Regions from separate parts of the Homo sapiens genome. Here region 1 is linked to region 2. Evidence: promoter capture Hi-C in human tissues and cell types (Jung and others, 2019). All regions are on one chromosome and are shown on one strand. The core of a region is centred on a gene start or on the middle of the fragment in contact, and the rest is flanking DNA. Distances in the headings are between cores, read along the strand shown. Region 1 has its middle 4.8 kb from the start of EPHB4. Region 2 holds the start of UFSP1 (UFM1 specific peptidase 1).

Region 1 (4,248 bases), core at 1,163-3,662, 58 kb after region 2:
GGATCTTTCTCTACAAACCATGCAATGTTGCTTCTTGGCCTAAAACCCTTCACTAGCTCCCCAGAGCAGTCCTGCAAAAACCCGTAATGACCTGAGGCTGGCCCTCACTCACCTCTCCAGTTCACCCATGGTCACTGTCCTTGCCCTCTCTGACCTGGCGTTGTGAACTCTGGCAGCTCTCTGAATGGGGCGACCTCACAACTCTGCCTTTAAACTCCTTTCCTGCCAATCTCTAGGACTCATTCAGACATCATCACCTTCTGCAGAAAGCTCACCTGAAACCTGCATCGGCTGTGCTTCCTGCGTGATCCTGTAGGGTCCTCTGTGCACCACAAGTTAGGCTGTGCGCTTAGCCACCTGGATGCTGGTGAGGCCCCGTGGCTGTTTCTACCCCTGACTTGTCTAATCCTGGAAGGTAGAAAATGACTTGGTGTCCTCCATTTTCAATTTTTCCTTCTTTCTTTTTTTTTTTTTTTTTTTTTTTTTTTTTGAGACAGAGTCTCGCTCTGTACCTGAGGCTGGAGTGCAGTGGCGTGATCTGGGTTCACTGCAAGCTCCGCCTCCCGGGTTCCCGCCATTCTCCTGCCTCAGCCTCCCAAGTAGCTGGGACTACAGGTGCCCACCACCACACCCGGCTAATTTTTGTATTTTTAGTAGAGATGGGGTTTCACCATGTTAGCCAGGATTGTCTCGATCTCCTGACTTCGTGATCCGCCCACCTCAGCCTCCCAAAGTGCTGGGATTATAGGTGTGAGCCACCACACCCAGCTATTTTTTCTTTAGAGCTGGGGTCTCACTATGTTGCCCAGGCTGGCCTGGAACTCCTGGGCTCAAGTGATCCTCCCACCTCGGCCTCCCAAAGTGCTGGGATTACAGGCATGAGCCACCATACCTTGTCTGTTTTTTTTTGTTTTGTTTTGTTTTTTTGCTTTTTGTTTTGTTTTGCTTTGCTTTGAGACAGAGTCTCGCTCTGTCACCCAGCCTGGAGTGCAGTGGTACAATCTTGGCTCACTGCAACCTCTGCCTCCTGGATTCAAGCAATTCTCGTGCCTCAGCCTCCTGAGTAGCTGGGATTACAGGCGTGTGCCACTGTAACTGGCTAATTTTTCTATTTTTAGTAGAGACGGGCCAGGCAGGTCTTGAACTCCCAACCTCAGGTGATCCACCCGCCTCGGCCTCCCAAAGTGCTAAGATTACAGGTGTGAGCCACTGCGCCCAGCCTTTTTTTCAACTTTTTTTTTGGCCTCACACAGTGCTAGAATTAGGTAGGAGTTTGAGACCAGCCTGGACAACATAGCAAGACCTCATGTCTACAAAAAATAAAAATAAAATAAAATAAATTAGCCAGGCCAGGTGCAGTGGATCACACCTGTAATCATAGGACTTTGGGAGGCTGAGGCTAGACAATCACTTGAGCTCAAGAGTTCAAGACCAGCCTGCGCAACATAGTGAGACCCTGTCTGTACAAACACTAAAAATATTAGCTAGGCATGGTGGCACACGCCTGTAGTCTCAGCTACTTGGGAGGCTGAGGCAGGAGGATCGCTTGAGCCTGGGAGTTCGAGGCTGCAGTGAGCCTCGATCGTGCCACTGCACTCCAGCATGGGTGACAAAGGGAGACCCTGTCTCTTAAAAAAAGAAAAAAAAAGGTATAAAATCTTTGGATTGAGAGAAGAAATCACAGCTGACCTCAAATGTTTAAAATATGACAAATATCATAAATATTATACAAGCTAGAAAAATAACAACATTTATAGTAAAGAAGACTGATATAGCCCTGGAATACTTGCATTTACTACCTTTTTCTTAGATGTGTACTCTTTGACCATCTCTTCATATGATGATTTTGTAATATTATTTTCTATTCTTTCTCTGTCTTTCCTCTAGGATGGCTGATTAATTTTTGCTTAGAGATGGGGTCTCGCTCTGTTGCCCAGGTTGGAGTGCAGTGGTGCCATCACGGCTCCCTGCAGCCTAGACCTCTCAGGCTCAGTGATCCTCCCACCTCGGCCTCCCCAGTGTCTGAGAGACCATAGCCACATGCCACCACGCCCAGCTATTTTTTATTTTTTATTTTCTGGTAGAGACAGGGGTCTCACTTTGTTGCCCAGGCCGGTCTCAAACTCCAGGACTCAAGCAATCCTCCTGCCTTGGCTTCCCAAAGTGCTGGAATTACAGGTGTGAGCCACAGTGCCTGGCTAAGTTATTTTTTTTTGGTGGGAGTGGGACGGAGTCTCGCTCTGTTGCCAGGCTGGAGTGCAGTGGCGCGATCTCGGCTCACTGCAACCTCCGCCTCCCAAGTTCAAGTGATTCTCCTGCCTCAGCCTCCCGAGTAGCCTGGCTAAGTTTTTAAGGTTTCATCATTGTTTATAAAAATTTATTTGAGCTTTACAACTCTATTGGTAATGTTGAAAACTCTATCAAATTCCTTTTGTAACAGAGCTGTAAGATTTCAGGTCATTTCAAGTGTTGTCCTGCTGAAACTCACCTTCAAAACTGTTTAAATTATGGCACTTATTAACCAGGGCCGTGGAAGAAGCCAGGCAGGTGAGAGGTGCTGAAGCTTAAACTTCATGAACTTTGGGGTAAACCTGAACTTTGGACCCGACACAGTTAGGTGGCCCAGAAGAGGGGAGACTGAGATGTGGAAAGAGTAATGAGAAGTTCAACAATTTACGGAGAAAGGGGTGATTTGCTGCTTGTTATTTCTTACAATAGGAAAAGCTGTAACTCCAGGATTACTCAAAACAACTGTCACAATCTGTACAAGAAAAAGTAAACTTATTAGCCGGGCATGGTCCCCGCGCGGGGTCCCAGCTCCTCAGGAGGCTGAGGAAAGATTGCTCGAGCCCAGGAGGTCAAGGCTGCAGTGAGCCATGACCGTGCCACTGCACTCCAGCCTGGGCAATACAGTAAGACCCTATCTCTAAAAAAAAGAGCCACGTGCAGTGGCTCACGCCTGTAATCCCAGCACTTTGGGAGGCCAAGGCAGGTGGATCACCTTAGGTCAGGAGTTCCAGACCAGCCTGACCAACATGGAGAAACCCCGCGTCTACTAAAAATACAAAATTAGCCCGGTGTGGTGGCATATGCCTGTAATCCCAGCTACCTGGGAGGCTGAGGCGGGAGAATCACTTGAACCCAGGAGGCAGAGGTTGTGGTGAGCCGAGATCGCACCTTTGCACTCCAGCCTGGGCAACAAGAGTGAAACGCCGTCTCCAAAAATAAAATAAAATAAAATACAAAAGAAAAGAAAAAGAAAACTCCAGTAGCTGTTGGTGGATGCTATGCGCAAGTACCGACAATGCACCGTGTGATAGCAGTATATTGCTCTGGGCTGGGAACAAAGGTGACAGCCTAATATTTTGGGTAGGGAACAGCAAAGTGCTCTAATAATGAGGAAGGGAGGGCTGAGTTTGGTTTGGTCTGCAGAACAGGCATGGATTCAGGTAGTAACGTGAATGTTCACCCACGTTCTGTAATTTAGTGGCTACTGAATTTGCTTGCCTGGGAAGTGGTTCTGGGTGGTCTAAGGGTGGAGGACATGACTTCACACACACAGGATAGACCAAGGGTGGTTCCTGAGAATTGAAGTGAAAATCTCAGATGCCATCTCCACGTAAAGGGGAAATCATGGGATTTTTTTTCTACCAGGTTGTAATTCACCAGATGACATAAAACTATATTAATTTTTACCAGATTCTCTTTGAGGCCAGGAACCATGTTTTACAAATCTTGAAAACTAGCAATGTGATCACTCGGCACGTAGTAGATGCTCAGTAAAGATTTCATTTTTTCATTCTTTGACTGGCATACACTAGATGGTAGAAAATAGATTACTGCCTGGTGTGGGGTGTGGGCTGATGACCTGACATGGAATAGAATGTTTTCTCTCTTTCTTTCTTTCTTTTTTTGTAGACAGGGTCTCGCTATGTTGTTCAGGCTGCCCTCAAACTCCTGGACTGAAACGATCCTCTCATCTCAGCCTCCAAAAGTGCTGGCATTACAGGTATGAGTCACTGTGCCCCACTAAGATGAGTGTTTTCTATTGTTTAATTAATTTATGTTTTGAGACAGAGTTTCACTCTGTTGCCCAGGCTGGAGTGCAGTGGCACGATTTCAGCTCACTGCAACCTCTGCCTCCCAGGGTTCAAGCAATTCTCCTGTCTCAGCCTCCCGAGTAGCTGGGACTGCAGGCCTGCACCACCACACCTGGCTAAGTTTTGTATTTTCAGTAGAGAAGGGGTT
Region 2 (3,685 bases), core at 146-2,645:
ACCCCTCTCTTCTCCCCCTAGCCTCGGAGGCTCCCAGCACCTGCCCAGGCTTCACCCATGGGGAGGCTGCTCCGAGGCCCGGCCTCCCCCTGCCCCTCCTCCTCCTCCACCAGCTTCTCCTCCTCTTCCTCTCCCACCTCCGGCGGCTGTGAACACGGCCTCTTCCCCTACGGCCACAGGGGCCCCTCCTCTAATGAGTGGTCGGACCGTGGGGAAGGGCCCCACTCAGGGATCTCAGACCTAGTGCTCCCTTCCTCCTCAAACCGAGAGACTCACACTGGACAGGGCAGGAGGAGGGGGCCGTGCCTCCCACCCTTCTCAGGGACCCCCACGCCTTTGTTGTTTGAATGGAAATGGAAAAGCCAGTATTCTTTTATAAAATTATCTTTTGGAACCTGAGCCTGACATTGGGGGGAAGTGGGAGGCCCCGGACGGGGTAGCACCCCCCATTGGGGCTATAACGGTCAACCATTTCTGTCTCTTCTTTTTCCCCCAACCTCCCCCTCCTGTCCCCTCTGTTCCCGTCTTCCGGTCATTCTTTTCTCCTCCTCTCTCCTTCCTGCTGTCCTTCTCCGGCCCCGCCTCTGCCCTCATCCTCCCTCTCGTCTTTCGCACATTCTCCTGATCCTCTTGCCACCGTCCCACGTGGTCGCCTGCATTTCTCCGTGCGTCCTCCCTGCACTCATACCCCCCCTTCAACCCGCCCAAATGTCCGATCCCCGACCTTCCTCGTGCCGTCCTCCCCTCCCGCCTCGCTGGGCGCCCTGGCCGCAGACACGCTCGACGAGGCGGAGCGCCAGTGGAAGGCCGAGTTCCACCGCTGGAGCTCCTACATGGTGCACTGGAAGAACCAGTTCGACCACTACAGCAAGCAGGATCGCTGCTCAGACCTGTGACCCCGGCGGGACCCCCATGTCCTCCGCTCCGCCCGGCCCCCTAGCTGTATATACTATTTATTTCAGGGCTGGGCTATAACACAGACGAGCCCCAGACTCTGCCCATCCCCACCCCACCCCGACGTCCCCCGGGGCTCCCGGTCCTCTGCATGTCTCAGGCTGAGCTCCCTCCCCCGCGGTGCCTTCGCCCCTCTGGGCTGCCAATAAACTGTTACAGCCACGGGAGTGTGCGCGACTAGGGAGCCAGGGGTAGAGGCAGAACGCCGGAATCACGGGGGCCGAGTCTATGCAGGAGCGGGGCTGGAGGGCAAGAAACAGGCGAGCTCCGAGGCGGGCGCAAGGCAAAGGCCAACCCCTAGCCCTGCCCTGCCGGGCGGAGCTCGCGCCTGCGTAATGAGGCCCGCAGGCAGGCTAGCTGGCACGGCGGAGGGGAGGAGAGGGGAGGGGAGGGGAGGGGAGGGGAGGGGAGGGGCGGGGCGGGGCGGGGCGCGGCGGAGCATTGTGGGAGCTCCTCGGTCGGTGCCGGTCGGTGGCTGCCTATTGCGGCCTGCGGTGATCAACGAGGCCCGGGGAGCGCGTCCCCAGTCTGCGCGCCGGTCCTGCGGCAGCTGGCCCAAGACCCGGAGCCGAAAGGAAGTGTTGGAGCCTGAGGTCGCTCCGCGCCGCTAGGAGGACGCTGTGCCTGGCCTGGGACCTCCGCTCCCGCCCACCGCCCTGGAGCCGCTGAGGGACGTCCACGTGGGCCTGTCCCCGCCGAGCCGCGGCCCTGTCCGCCTGGCGCTGCTCTCGGGCCACTACCTCTACTACCACTACGGCTGCGACGGCCTGGACGACCGCGGCTGGGGCTGCGGCTACCGCACTCTGCAGACGCTGTGCTCGTGGCCAGAGGGCCAGCCCGCGGGCGTACCTGGACTGGCCGCCGTACAGGCGGCCCTGGAGGACATGGGCGACAAGCCCCCCGGCTTCCGGGGCTCCCGGGACTGGATCGGCTGCGTGGAGGCCAGCCTCTGCCTCGCTCACTTCGGAGGGCCCCAGGGACGCCTCTGCCACGTACCCCGGGGAGTGGGGCTGCACGGGGAGCTGGAGAGGCTTTACTCGCACTTCGCAGGGGGTGGGGGCCCAGTCATGGTTGGGGGGGACGCAGATGCCAGGTCCAAGGCCTTGCTGGGAGTCTGCGTAGGGTCAGGCACGGAAGCCTATGTCCTGGTATTGGACCCTCACTACTGGGGCACTCCAAAAAGCCCCAGTGAACTACAGGCTGCTGGGTGGGTGGGCTGGCAAGAGGTGAGTGCAGCCTTTGACCCCAACTCCTTCTACAACCTGTGCTTGACCAGCCTTAGCTCCCAACAGCAGCAGCGCACCTTGGACTGAGGACGAAGTTACAGAACTGAGATTCTCGGGTCCCAGACACGCACCTATGTACCTCCCACTGGTGTCCCTGCAAAGCCTGGCGCTTTTGACATCAATAATAAAAGTGGCAGGGCTGAGCAACACCTCAGGAGTTACTCTGGAAGGATGGAGGAGTTATGTAACACACGAGAGTCAGGAGCCCTGTGGAAGTGCTTTTATTAGCAGTAAGGCTGATCGTACAAAAAATTCTCAGAGCTTCATAGGACAAGGTAGTACAAGTATGGATGATACAGGACTGAGGAACGGGGGACGGCTCAAAAGAAATCAACATCGTCTGGGGCATCCAGGTCCCGATATTCCACAATGGCCCTTGGGTCTCCACGAACCATCCTGTGAGGTGAGAGGTACAGGATGAGAGCTGAGGGCTCCCAAAAGGGAGTCTGCAGGCGGCAACAAAGCTTGGGCGTCTGCCCTCCTCACCTGTTGCGAGGTTTCCCAGGATAACCTCCCTGGCCTCGGAAGGCATCATAGTTCCCTCGACCAGCACCATACGGGGCATGGGGGTATGGAGGGCCTCCTGTGGGGACTGCAGGGCGGACAGCACCAGCTATGACAGAGATCAGTGTTGAGTTGCAAAACTATGTCCTCAATTCCATCCTCTGTTTTCTTCTCCCAAAGCCACACACTCACCAAGCCCCTTCATCTCCCTCCTGTACTTACCTCCATAGCCCAAGATCGGGGGCCGGGGCTGACCATAGGGCATCAGGCCCTGGGGAGTCTGGTGTGGGTAGGGGAGTCCTGGGGTCAAACCTGGGGGGAGTACAACACGGACAGGGACATGAATTACTGCGGGGGCGGGGAGGGGGATACGGGTACAATTGACTTCTAGGGCTATGGCCTGAGGATGGGGCAGAAACTTCTCGGGGTGACACGTTAAAGAGAAACAGGAGTCCCTGGGTAGTCAAGGAAGAGGGCACATGCGACCTTCATGGATCGTATCTTACTCTGGGCGGGGCCAGGTGGCTGGGCTGGCTTGATCTCAGGCAGAGCTGGGCGCTTAGCATCAGTGAGGAAGTTGTTAAAAAACGCGACTTCCTTTTTCACTTCCTCAATTTTCTCTGCATGCTTGTTGAAGATATGTTTGCGCACAAACTCAGGACCCTGGGTGGAGAGAGGAGAGGGGTCAGGACAGCCACATAAGGGTTGCCTCGCTCCCAGGCCCGAGCTGGAAGGATTCCCAGCTCCCGCCTGCCAGTGCAGTAAGCAGTTCCCCCACCCCTGCCCAGGGGGCTTCCTGTCTCAACCCCACCTCCCACCACCGTAGCACGGCCATTCTCCAACATCCCACACCTTGAATTTCTTGCCACTGAGAGGACACAGCCACTTATCCTTGCCCAGTTCCTGCGTGTTGGAGGTGACGAACTTCTCCACTTCCTGCT

Evidence for each region. Contacts are between HindIII fragments. The study calls those that stand out against the background at their distance.
Region 1: a fragment that was not itself captured here is called in contact with the fragment with the promoter of UFSP1 in region 2 in 1 of the 25 tissues and cell types used here (pancreas).

What each region holds. Positions count from the first base shown.
Region 1 is chr7:100,830,175-100,834,422 of GRCh38, reverse strand. It overlaps a transcript of SLC12A9 not described here. Among named protein-coding and RNA genes, the nearest start is that of EPHB4, 4.8 kb to the right of the region's middle. The HindIII fragment of the contact is 4,124 bases long and covers 351-4,248 here.
Region 2 is chr7:100,887,425-100,891,109 of GRCh38, reverse strand. It overlaps UFSP1 (UFM1 specific peptidase 1), which reads left to right and starts at 1,395. Exons shown (of 1, transcript NM_001430944.2): 1 at 1,395-2,389. The coding sequence starts at 1,611. The coding sequence ends at 2,267. It overlaps SRRT (serrate, RNA effector molecule), which reads right to left. Exons shown (of 20, transcript NM_015908.6): 16 at 3,597-3,685; 17 at 3,251-3,407; 18 at 2,967-3,068; 19 at 2,727-2,853; 20 at 2,446-2,636. The coding sequence ends at 2,561. ACHE (acetylcholinesterase (Yt blood group)) reads left to right here. Exons shown (of 5, transcript NM_000665.5): 5 at 775-1,116. The coding sequence ends at 896. RefSeq lists silencers at 1, 73-230, 1,322-1,371 and enhancers at 1-168, 392-451, 169-902. The HindIII fragment of the contact is 19,297 bases long and covers 1-3,685 here.